Regions from separate parts of the Homo sapiens genome. Here region 1 is linked to region 2. Evidence: promoter capture Hi-C in 16 types of primary human blood cells and fetal thymus (Javierre and others, 2016). All regions are on one chromosome and are shown on one strand. The core of a region is centred on a gene start or on the middle of the fragment in contact, and the rest is flanking DNA. Distances in the headings are between cores, read along the strand shown.

Region 1 (5,692 bases), core at 2,449-4,948, 54 kb after region 2:
AGTTGTAAAAAATTCCCTTAATATTTGCTTGTTTGAAAAGGATTTCATTTCTCCTTTGCTTTTAAAACTTACTTTGATGGAATATTACATTCTTGTTTAGAATTTTATTTCTTTAAGGATGTTGATAATGCACCCCCAATCTCATCTGGCTTGTAAGGTTTCTGCTGAAAGGTCCACTGTTAGCTCCATAGAGTTTCCTTTGTAAGTGACCTGCCCCTTATCTCTAGCTGCCTTTAAGATTTTTTATTTTACATTAACCTTGGGCAATCTGATGACTCTCTGTCTTGAGGATGGTTGTCCAGTGTAGTTTTAATGGACACAAAGACTCCCACACACAAGATACAATATTAATGTCTATAAACTTTGAATATGTAAACTCTTTGATAAGCCCCCAACTCCTGCAAATGGTAAAAGGAAATGTTAAGCAAGGAATAACTTTTTGCTTTTATAAATAGAATCTGAGGAGGTTTAGTCTGAGCACTGTTAGTGCAAAGTGAGGGTTTAGTTTGAGCACTGTTGGTGGGAAGTGAGACCTGACTCCCAAGTAACAAATCTAAAATAGATAATCTCTGACAAGTGTTGTGTGTTAAAGGGGGTAGTTTTTGACTTATGGCCTAAAAACAATGTACATACATATGTCTTCCCTATACTAAACTGGAGGTGTTGAGAGTCAGAAGGGACCAAACCAGCTAACTCTTGTTAAGGTGTTTCCCTCTGGTTAAGGTATTTCCCAATTGGATCTCCAGAAGAAGAATGACATGCTTTTTCCCAAGAGTCTCCTTTGCAAGTCACTGGACCTGTTCTCTAAGGGAGCCAGAGCAATGAATATGTAATGAGATAAAGGCAATGAGATAAATAAACAAACGTCTAAAGCTATAACTTGAGTGGTGTCTGTAGTCTCTATCTGTGCTGTGTCACAAAGCTAACACTTACTTCCTGGAAGGGTGGAAGTATGAAGTGAGGCAGCATAGCCTGAACCAACTTGGACATGAGGCACAGAAGACTAGCCTTTGTCTCTCCAAAAGCAGCCTGAGACACTGTAGACTTTTATAAACTCATAAATATGCTATACTAGGATTGCAATATAATAGCCTAACTTGAGACAATTTCTTCCCATTGATCTATTCTGCAAATTAAAAGATCTGTTAAATTCAGTTTTCCCTTTAAGCTCCATGTTCCAGGTACAATAAGACTGAATTGAGGGTATACTTTTCTCAAGTGATGCATCTCCAATTTCTTGAAAAAGTGACATCACAGCCAACTCAACAAGTGAGTTCCATTGCCTGACTTTTTGGGTAGTTCTAAAAGCCTTGTCTTTATCCTGTCTATTTCTATGCCCAATAATATCCTAGGTGGTTTTAGTTTGCCTTATTTTTACTGGTTTTCACAGTGACTATACTTTCCTATTCTAGAATTCCCCAAGGCTATGAATCTTATCTTTAAAAGACCATTGTTTCTTTGTCTCTACATTTTTCCTGACTGAAGAATTTGTAATGAACAAGTTGTTCCAAATCACTGGTTCTGGAGTTAAATTAGTAGAATACTTAAAAAGTCATTTTCATTAAATCAAGGCTCATTAAACTCCTTTATTGTAAGAAACCATTTTAATAGTTATTCTTTTACCTGTTCATATTTTTTGGATTAGACTTATGGAATATGATTTTAAAATATTTTTTTCCTTGTGGCATTTACAAGTCATGGAAGCTGGAAGTAGGACTCCAAATTTATTTATTTTTCCTCCATTGAAAATAACATAAATCATGTTTTGGAGCAAAAAACTAACTGGCTTTACATTCTGGGTCTCTAGACTCACATCTTTATACACTCATTTTAAAAAATGAGAGAGATGAGAGAAAAAGGAAGTTATCTAGAATAAGAGAAAGAGTGAGAGGGAGAGAGGGAGAAACTTTTTGGATCTAGGTAACTGAAGAAGGACTGCTTTTATTTGGTCTTAGGTCATATGCTCATTCTTCCTCTAAATCAATCTTCATGACTCAGAAAGTATGGGACCACTATAATTATCTCAGATTAGGTTTGTGTCTTGAGTCTGCCAAGTTTAATTACAAGATTTCAAAAAAATTCTAATATTATTGCACGTACTTTTAGAGTTATAATGTATCTTTCAGGTCTAAATATTGTATGATTAAATTTTACTAGATAAACCACTGGCAATTTAGCTAAGGTTTATATTTATCTAGCTGCTTTTGTTGTTATATTGAAACAGGAATTAAAAGAAATTAAAGAATGTGTAAGCAAAAACTCAGTTGTATGTAAGAAAACCCAATTCCCCCTGAGGAAGAGAAAGAGATGAAGTCCTTTAAAACTTAACTGCCTGTTTTCCTGTGGCTAGTGAGCCTTATCTCTCCCTTTCCCAGGCATTGTGAAGACCCTGTTTTTCTAGCTGTGCAGCTGCAAGGCCACTAGGCAGATAAACTCAAGTTGTAAAACATGTTTTTCCTTGAAAAGTAAGAAATGATGTAATGCATGTCTCAATTAAATAACTGTCTTTGTTTCTTGCTTCTGTAATATGCTTCCCCCTGCACAGATCTCCCCCACCCCACAAAATGCTTAAAAGATAACCAGACTCTTTGTTTGGAGCTCAGTTTTTTTGGATGTTAATCTGACTGGGCCGGTGCACCTAAATAATAAATAATAAGTATCCTCTTCAACTCCTCAGTCTCTCTGATTCCTAAATTATCCCGCTGCAATATATGGCCATGAAGTTAAGTATGCACATAGAAAAATATACATGAATGTGTACATGCAAACACACATATGAGTATTTTGATTGCTAGTGAAAATAACATTGTGTTAAATATATATATTCAAAAAAAGAAGATAAAAAGAAAAAATGAGGAATTAAAAAAAATGTTAATTTAAAAAACAAGCTTCTTCCCTCACAGAATTACTCCTGAGCCAGGATGTTTTATGTTTTCAGCATACCATTGCTTTGTTTACATTCCCACTGTAAGGGGAATGCACTGTATTTCTTGGGATCATCAAGGAAACCTTTACCAATGCTAAAGGAGGGGCAAATCTTGGTTTCTAAAGCCCAGTGTGGAAGAAGCTGACTTTCTTCCTGTTGAGAGGTGAAGCCAGCTGGGCTTCTGGTTCAGGTGGGGACTTGGAGAACTTTTCTGTCTAGCTAAAGGATTGTAAACACACCAATCAGCGCCCTGTGTCTAGCTAAAGGTTTGCAAATGCACCAATCAGCATTCTGTAAAAATGCACCAATCAGCACTCTGTGTCTACCTAAAGGTTTATAAATGCACCATCAGCACTCTGTAAAAATGGACCAATCAGTGCTCTGTGTCTACCTAAAGGTTTATAAATGCACCATCAGCACTCTGTAAAAATGGACCAATCAGCACTCTGTAAAATGGACCAATCAGTGCTCTATAAAATGTACTAATCAGCAGGACATGGGCGGGGCCAAATAAGGGAATAAAAGCTGGCCACATCCAAGCCAGCAATGGCAAACTGCTCGGGTCCCCTTCCACACTGTGGATGTTTTGTTCTTTCACTCTTCTCAAAAAATCTTGCTGCTGCTCACCCTTTGGGTCCACACTACCTTTATGAGCTGTAACACCACGAATATCTGTGGCTTCACTCCTGAAGTCAGCGAGACCGTGAACCCACCAGAAGGAATAAACTCTGGACACATCTGAACATCTGAAGGAACACACCGTCTTTAAGGAACTGTAACACTCACTGCAACAGTCCGTGGCTTCATTCTTCAAGTCAGCGAGACCAAGAACCCACTGGAAGGAACCAATTCTGGACACACTGTCTCATGCCACACAACCTCCTGCCTCAGCAAAAACAGTGAAAATGTGAACAGAAAAATCCACAAGAAATGTATGTCTTTTCAATTTCAGTTTTCCTCATTGGATTCTTAATTGGATGGCTTATACTGAAACCAACCCAATAATCTCATAGACAGTTTTTTCTTACAAACATAGAGGTTGGCACTTGTGGTCTTAGGGCTTGAAACTTACATTTGTTTTATCTGAGTTCCTTCCTCAAGAAAGGACCCCCAGTCCTCTCAAAGAGTATCAAAGAACTGAAACTCACCAGATCATCATATCCAGTCAATAGGATGCCATGACCCTCATTAATTACGATTGTTTCTTTACTCTTCCCTAGTTCCTGTTTCTCCACACATAGTTACATTTCTTCCCTGCCATGTAAACCCTTAATTTTAGTTGGTCAGTGAGATGGATCTGAGACTGAGCTCTCATTTCCTCAGCTGGAGCACCCAATTAAAGCCTTCTTCCCTGGCAATCCTCATCATCTTGGTGATTGGTTTTATGTGCAGTGAGCATCAGGGCTTAGAACAAACCCCTGGTGTTTTGGTAACAATATCTGGTTTGATTTTCAGCTACTAAAAAGAACATTTCATTTGCAGGGAGCCAGACACAGGAGAGCTGAAGGGCTCAGCAAGGGCGGCTAGGAACTTGTCCCCTGGCTGCAGGGCCCACACCAGGTAAATTCACTCCTAAGCTTTACCTTTCATGTACATTTGGGTTAACAAACAACAATGAATTCCCAAACACAGACTGCACTAGAGGGTGGGCTAAGTTAGCTGGAGGACCATGCAGGTGGCCCTGTGCTGTATGGCTTGTGGAGTGCTTTGCTTCTAGAGAACCAGTATGTCCATTTAGTCCAGAGTTGGCTTTGAGGTGACAGTGCACTCCCAACATCCCCAGGATGCACTGCTCCTCCTCCTCCTTGGGTATCCACTCAGGGCTGTAGCAAAGAACCCTACCTAGGACATGGAAGAATGCATCCTACCCTTCTCTGTGCAACAAGAGCTGTAGTCACTTCTCAAACAAAGAGACCAAATCCAGCCCCCTCACAGAGGGTCTGGGTGGAATAGCTTTCTCCACCCTACCCCCAGCCTGCTTCATCTCTCTTCCTTAGACATTGCCTGACTGTCTTTTGCCATCGCATTGGAGAAACAACAACAACAACAAAATGGTCCTTACCTTAAGAAAATTTAAATACTAAAACAGAGGCTCAATTATTTTTTAATTATCCACAATGAATAATATTCTGTAGATACTACAAAGCTGTATTATATGGAATAATTCAATGTCACACTTACAAATTGTTAAAAATAACAATAAGGTATAAGCATATTTGTTTATGGAGCACTGTTCATAAATGTGTGGTCCATGACTAAAGTGCATCAGAATAACTTGTGGCACTTTTTGAAACTACAGGTTTGGAGCATTTGTAACCATCACTGCAGATAATTCTCATGGACAGTAAGTTTTGGAAGCCACTGATGGTCTACCCTCAGCTAACAGAGCTATCTAATTTTACTTGTTTCCTTTAGAGTTAAAAGCTTCTTACCTTGGATACCTTCATCCTGCTTTGCAGAAAAGAAAAAAGAAAAAAAAAACTTTGTAAGCACGTCTACTCCCTCTTAAAGCTTTTTTAGATATGTTTAAAAAACCTCTACAATTTCTCCTGTCCACAGCAATAAAAGAAAAGAAATTGGAAGAAGGAGTCTGTTAAAACAATCCCATCAAAAAGTGGGCAAAGGATATGAACAAATACTTCTCAAAAGAAGACATTTACGCAGCTAACAAACATGAAAAAAATCTCAACATCATTGATCATCAGAGAAATGCAAATCAAAGCCACAATGAGACATTTCACACCAGTCAGAATGGTGATGATTAAA
Region 2 (5,756 bases), core at 502-3,001:
ATTCTCTGCAGTTTCTAGGAAACATGCAGTTTCAAAGAAGTCAGGTCAAATACATCCAGCCTATCTACACTAGGTAACAGTTGGGCAATTCCCTTTGTCATCTGGCTTAGTCACTGAATTTCCTTTTTGGTTTCTATTTCCTACAGAGAACTTTCAAAAATCCCCCTTTCTGTTATTCCATATTTTGTATTCAAATTGTCTCCTTTTTCGAGCAGGGAAAATGGGGTGGGAAGAACAAAAACCCCAGGACTGAGTGAAGAAAATAAATGAGAAATCACCACAGTGAAAGTAAAAGACGAGAGTTCGAACTCAGCAAGTTCTCATCGAAGCAGCTTTCTTTTTTCTTTTCTTTTCTTTTTTTTTTTTTTTTTGAGACAGAGTCTCGCTCTGTCACCCAGGCTGAAGTGCAGTGGTGCAGTCTCGGCTCACTGCAAGCTCCGCCTCCCAGGTTCAAGCCATTCTCCTGCCTCAGCCTCCCGAGTAGCTGGGACCACAGGCGCCCGCCACCATGCCCAGGTAATTTTTTGTATATTTTTAGTAGAGACGGGGTTTCATCGTGTTAGCCAGGATGGTCTAGATCTCCTGACCTCGTCATCCACCCGCCTCGGCCACCCAACATGCTGGGATTACAGGCGTGAGCCACCGTGCCCAGTCCCTCATGGAAGCAGTTTTCTTACTAGCTCTAAAATACCTCTTCTCCCGATTTTATAATCAAGGTAATGAGAGGTGACGGCGTGCTGGCAGCCCTTGCAGCCCTCCCTCGCTCTCGGTGCCTCCTCTGCCTGGGCACCCACTCTGGCGGCACTTGAGGAGCCCTTCAGCCCTCCGCTGCACTGTGGGAGCCCCTTCCTGGGCTGGCCGAGGCCGGAGCTGGCTCCCTCAGCTTGCTGGGAGGTGTGGAGGGAGAGGCAGGGGTGGGAACTGGGGCTGCGCCCGGTGCTTGAGGGCCAGCGCGAGTTCTGGGTGGGCTTGGGCTCTGAGGGACCTGCACTCGGAGCGGCCCCAGGCAGTGAGGGGCTTAGCACCTGGGCCAGCAGCTGCTGTGCTCCACTTCTTGCAGGGCCTTAGCTGCCTCCCGGTGGGGCAGGGCTGGGGACCTGCAGCCTGCCATGCCTGAGCCTCCTCCCCTCTCCCGCTCCCCACCTCACCCCGCCATGGGTTCCTGTGCTGCCTGAGCCTCCCCAACCTGTGCTGACCCCTGCTCCACAGCACCCTGTCCCATCCATGGCCCAAGGACCGAGGAGTGCCAGTGCATGGAGCAGGACTGGCAGGCAGCTCCACCTGCCGCCCGGTGCAAGATCCACTGGGTGAAGCCAGCTGGGCTCTTGAGTCTAGTGGGAACTTGGAGAATCTTTATGTCTAGCTAAGGGATTGTAAATACACCAATCAGCACTCTGTATCTATTTAATCTGGTGGGGACTTGGAGAATCTTTATGTCTAGCTAAGGGATTGTAAATGCACCAATCAGCACTCTGTATCTACCTCAAGGTTTGTAAATGCACCAATCAGCACTCTGTATCTAGCTCAAGGTTTGTAAATAGGCCAATCCACACTCTGTATCTAGCTAATCTAGTGGGGACATGAAGAACTTTTGTGTCCAGCTCAGGGATTGTAAACACACCAATCAGCACCCTGTCAAAACAGACCAATCAGCTCTCTGTAAAATGGACCAATCGGCTCTCTGTAAAATGGACCCATCAGCAGGATGTGGGTGGGGCCAGATAAGAGAAGTAGCCAGCAGTGGCAACCCACTGAGGTCACCCTCCAGGCTGTGGAACCTTTGTTCTTTCACTCTTTGCAATAAATCTTGCTGCTGCTCACTCTTTGGGTCCACACTGCCTTTATGAGCTGTAACACTCACTGGGAATGTCTGCAGCTTCACTCCTGAAGCCAGCGAGACCACGAACCCACCAGGAGGAACAAACAACTCCAGACGCGCAGCCTTAAGAGCTGTAACACTCACCGCGAAGGTCTGCAGCTTCACTCCTGAGCCAGCCAGACCACGAACCCACCAGAAGGAAGAAACTCCAAACACATCCGAACATCAGAAGGAGCAAACTCCTGACACGCCACCTTTAAGAACCGTGACACTCAACGCTAGGGTCCGCGGCTTCATTCTTGAAGTCAGTGAGACCAAGAACCCACCAATTCCGGACACGGTAAGACTGGGGCAAGAGGTGGAAGAGATTTGCAAGATTCATTTGGTTTTAGAAACATTCTACAAAGGATAGGATGCAGCTTATCCTGATGTGGTATATCAGACCTCAGTAAAGAATAAATTGTATTCTTATCAGACAGGCAGCAGAATTCATCAAGTACCAGCTGTGTCTGCCTCTTGCTGAATTAGACATCAATGTGTGTGGTGACTAAACTAAGAGTTTGAAATGCCTTCAAATTATTTTTCTTCCTTTGCAATTTTATGACTTATTCAGGATCATAATTTCCACTTAAGTTACCTTCGTCCTTCATAAAATCTGATTAAACTGACTCGAACTTCAGCATGAAAGTTTCAAAAACTATGATAGCTATTATTTTCATGAGAAAGAACAATGAATATGATGCAATGTAAGTAGCTTGCAAACATTAAGGACAAGAAAAAAATGTTGCCCAGAGAGAAGTTTCATGAAAACAGTGATGTATTTTTAGTCATAGTCTTGTACTTTGTTTGAAAGTAGATTTCTTCCTTTAGCAATAGCCCTGACTTAATTCATGTTGGTTTCTTGGCATCTACTCACTTAACTAACCCCTTTTGTGTTGGGTTCTGCTTCTACTACTCTATTGCCTTTACTATTATGAATCACCTAATTTAACAGTTGCCCAACTGGATCCCTCAATACTGTCTGGCAACTGTTCACTCGTTGAAATTCTCTCCTTTGAATTTCTTACCATGACACATACTTCAAGCATTTTGTACTAGTTTGATTTCCATTTATATCCTTAATAAGAGCCTTTTCCTTTTCCTTGAAATTCAAACCAGAAACTATGCAAAATAAGCAAAAGCAAGCAATAACAACTACATATACAAATGCAGGCGCAAAACCCAAACTAGAATCATATGGCTGAAAACAGATGTTTTCTTTCAGAAATCCTTCCACTACCACTTCTGAGCATTTTCTCTTAGTATTTTTTTTTGGGCATTTTCCTTCTTTGCACTTTTTAAAATCTCCTGCAGCTCGCTCACTCTCTTTCATAAGCCAGCAGTTATACTGATGTTAATAAATAGTTGTTTATTTACTTTTGCTTTTTTAGAAAACAAGCTGAAAGAATTGAGTGAAATGCCAGAGAGATACAGATAGCCAGTTGTAGGGCTGGGGTTGGAAATCAAGTCTAATTTAAGGCAAGGGCAAAATGTGCATTTTGTGTGTGTATTTTGAACCATTCTTGCATTGTTTTTATTTGCAAAGGTTATAGGGCTCAAGCAGTTAGGGAGAATGCATCCCAGAACACTAAGTTATGAATAACAGAGCAACAGTTATGTTTGTGGCTTGAACACATTAAATCTGCAATAATGTTTTAGAAATTTGGCTTTACTAAAAGCATTAAAGATGCTATCCAGATGACATTGGGGACAACATGTCAAATACTATTATTAATGTAGATATACAATGCTATTGTCATTCATAAGAGAGTCTGAACACTCAGACACATTCATTCCCTCTTCCTTAGTGACATCATCCCAAATCATAAGATCTTGTAAGCTCTCAATATCTGCTTATAGATTTGGCTTATGTATCTTTTGTTTTTCTAGCTAATTGTTGTAGATCATCACTTCAAGGTGCCCATATCTTTCTAGTGGAAAAATTATTCTGGCCTCCGCTGCATACAAATCAGGCAACCAGAATTCTACATATATAAGGTACTAATACTACATTGAAAATAGATTAGAATGAGAAGAGACCTGCCATTTGAGTCTCTAAATTTGTTGCAAAATTGCCTCTTTCTGGGTCAGGCTTGCACTAGGCATTTCCTGACTCCCATGTCCTAGTGCTACACCATTTGCAAATGGATATCCTATTTTCTGCTGCCAAGCAGTTTCTGTTTTAATTTATGTCAACATAATGATTTCCAGGGCATTAGCTATGAGGAAGCAGGGAGAATGGGTCTTCATAATTGTAAAATGACAGTTTTTGAAATTTGCTAGTAAAGAGATGGAGAATCCAAACCTTTTCATTGTAAGATTTTAGTGAAAGAACTCGTCAAGCGGATAGTGAAGTTTTAGCATCCTTAGTAAATAACCACCTTTAAAATGGAAGAAAACTATCCTTTATGATAAGGCAAAGTAGAAAAGCATATTTTTATGGCATTTGCTTTTTCTCATATAGCTCAAACATTTTTTTTAACCAGAGACTCTTTAGGTTATAGGGATTGATGCTCAGAAGTTAGAAAAAAATAGGTTAAGTATTATTAAAGGAAGTTGTTTTACTCATTCAGTCAATCATAAAATAATCATGCTTTGAAGTTTTGGTTTAATAAAGCACATTAGTAACTATGTAAAAAATTTCAAGTATATCACTAAGAAGCAAACAGCTATGATTTGTTAGATAATGCTGCATAATGACTTGGTAGTATTTAATGTAATGCAGTTTGACTGGACATAGATCTAACTGAAAAAAATGAAGTTGACACAAAGTAAAAGGAACAGTGTAATATATTAATAAAGAACATCATAAAGAATTAATATAGGAACCCAGGGAGGTAAAAACTAAAAAACATAACTAAGCCAAAAACCAATGGAATAAGAGTTAGATTCAAACTAGTAGGTTAGACGCAGGAAATGGATTTTCGTATGCCTATCAAATATTTAAGAACCAGTAGAATGGCCTATAGTAGACATATAAAGGGCCTAGGACTTACTTTTGTTTTAAAATAAAGTCTCTCTATTTTACAGGACTCTTTTTATTTTAAAACTTTTTTTTTCCAGAAACTTAGGCAGTGCTGGGGAGTAGTATGTCCCCAGGTTCAGTAAGCAAAATGACTTCCTTTGCTTATTAAACAAACACCAGAAATTCCAGCCTATCCCATCTGTTCCCTTGCAGGCAAAGTAACATCCTAGACATGGCTTTAGAGATCCACATGTCAGACCCCATGTGCCTCATCGAGAACTTTAATGAGCAGCTGAAGGTTAATCAGGAAGCTTTGGAGATCCTGTCTGCCATTACGCAACCTGTAGTTGTGGTAGCGATTGTGGGCCTCTATCGCACTGGCAAATCCTACCTGATGAACAAGCTGGCTGGGAAGAACAAGGGTGAGTGGTACCAGCAAAGCTCTGCCAAACCCTTCTGTCCATTCACACAGTCACCATCCAGTACGAGGAAGCAAGGAGAGAGTAAGACATGAGGATGAATATTAAAAGCCAATGTTTAGGCTACAGCTGGTCTTTTTATCTTTTGGAAGATGAAGACCAGTTCTCTGTTCCTGACATATCACCTCTTTTTTTTTTCTTTGCCTTGATTTCTTCTTGTAAAATGTATAATATATTCTCCTTGTAAGGAGTAAGACATCAATGAAGTAATTCCCGTATACATAATTATAAACTAGCAACATTTTAGTAGCATAATATTTTTTTAATATCAAAGTTCCAACCTATGGTATTTGATATTGTTTTTCCATTTCTGCATCATCATTCAAATCAATACTGGTTGTACATTCTGCTATCTCCTCATCTTGCTTTCCTTAAACTCTAGCTGAATGATCAAGCAAATCCCCAATTTCCAGAGTTTCTCTTCTATTACAACCTCTCACTCCCCCTGACAGGC

The links. Contacts are between HindIII fragments. The CHiCAGO score rates a contact against its expected background, and 5 or more counts as called.
Region 1: a contact is called between a fragment that was not itself captured here and the fragment with the promoter of GBP5 in region 2, in 7 of 17 cell types (total CD8 T cells, non-activated CD4 T cells, naive CD8 T cells and 4 more). The highest score is 9.1, in total CD8 T cells.

Annotation. Positions count from the first base shown.
Region 1 is chr1:89,216,748-89,222,439 of GRCh38, reverse strand. No RefSeq gene overlaps it. Among named protein-coding and RNA genes, the nearest start is that of GBP4, 21 kb to the right of the region's middle. The HindIII fragment of the contact is 1,615 bases long and covers 2,891-4,505 here.
Region 2 is chr1:89,268,855-89,274,610 of GRCh38, reverse strand. It overlaps GBP5 (guanylate binding protein 5), which reads left to right and starts at 1,751. Exons shown (of 12, transcript NM_052942.5): 1 at 1,751-2,159; 2 at 3,749-3,856; 3 at 5,037-5,245; 4 at 5,755-5,756. The coding sequence starts at 5,056. It also overlaps the pseudogene LOC100421401. The HindIII fragment of the contact is 6,725 bases long and covers 1-5,136 here.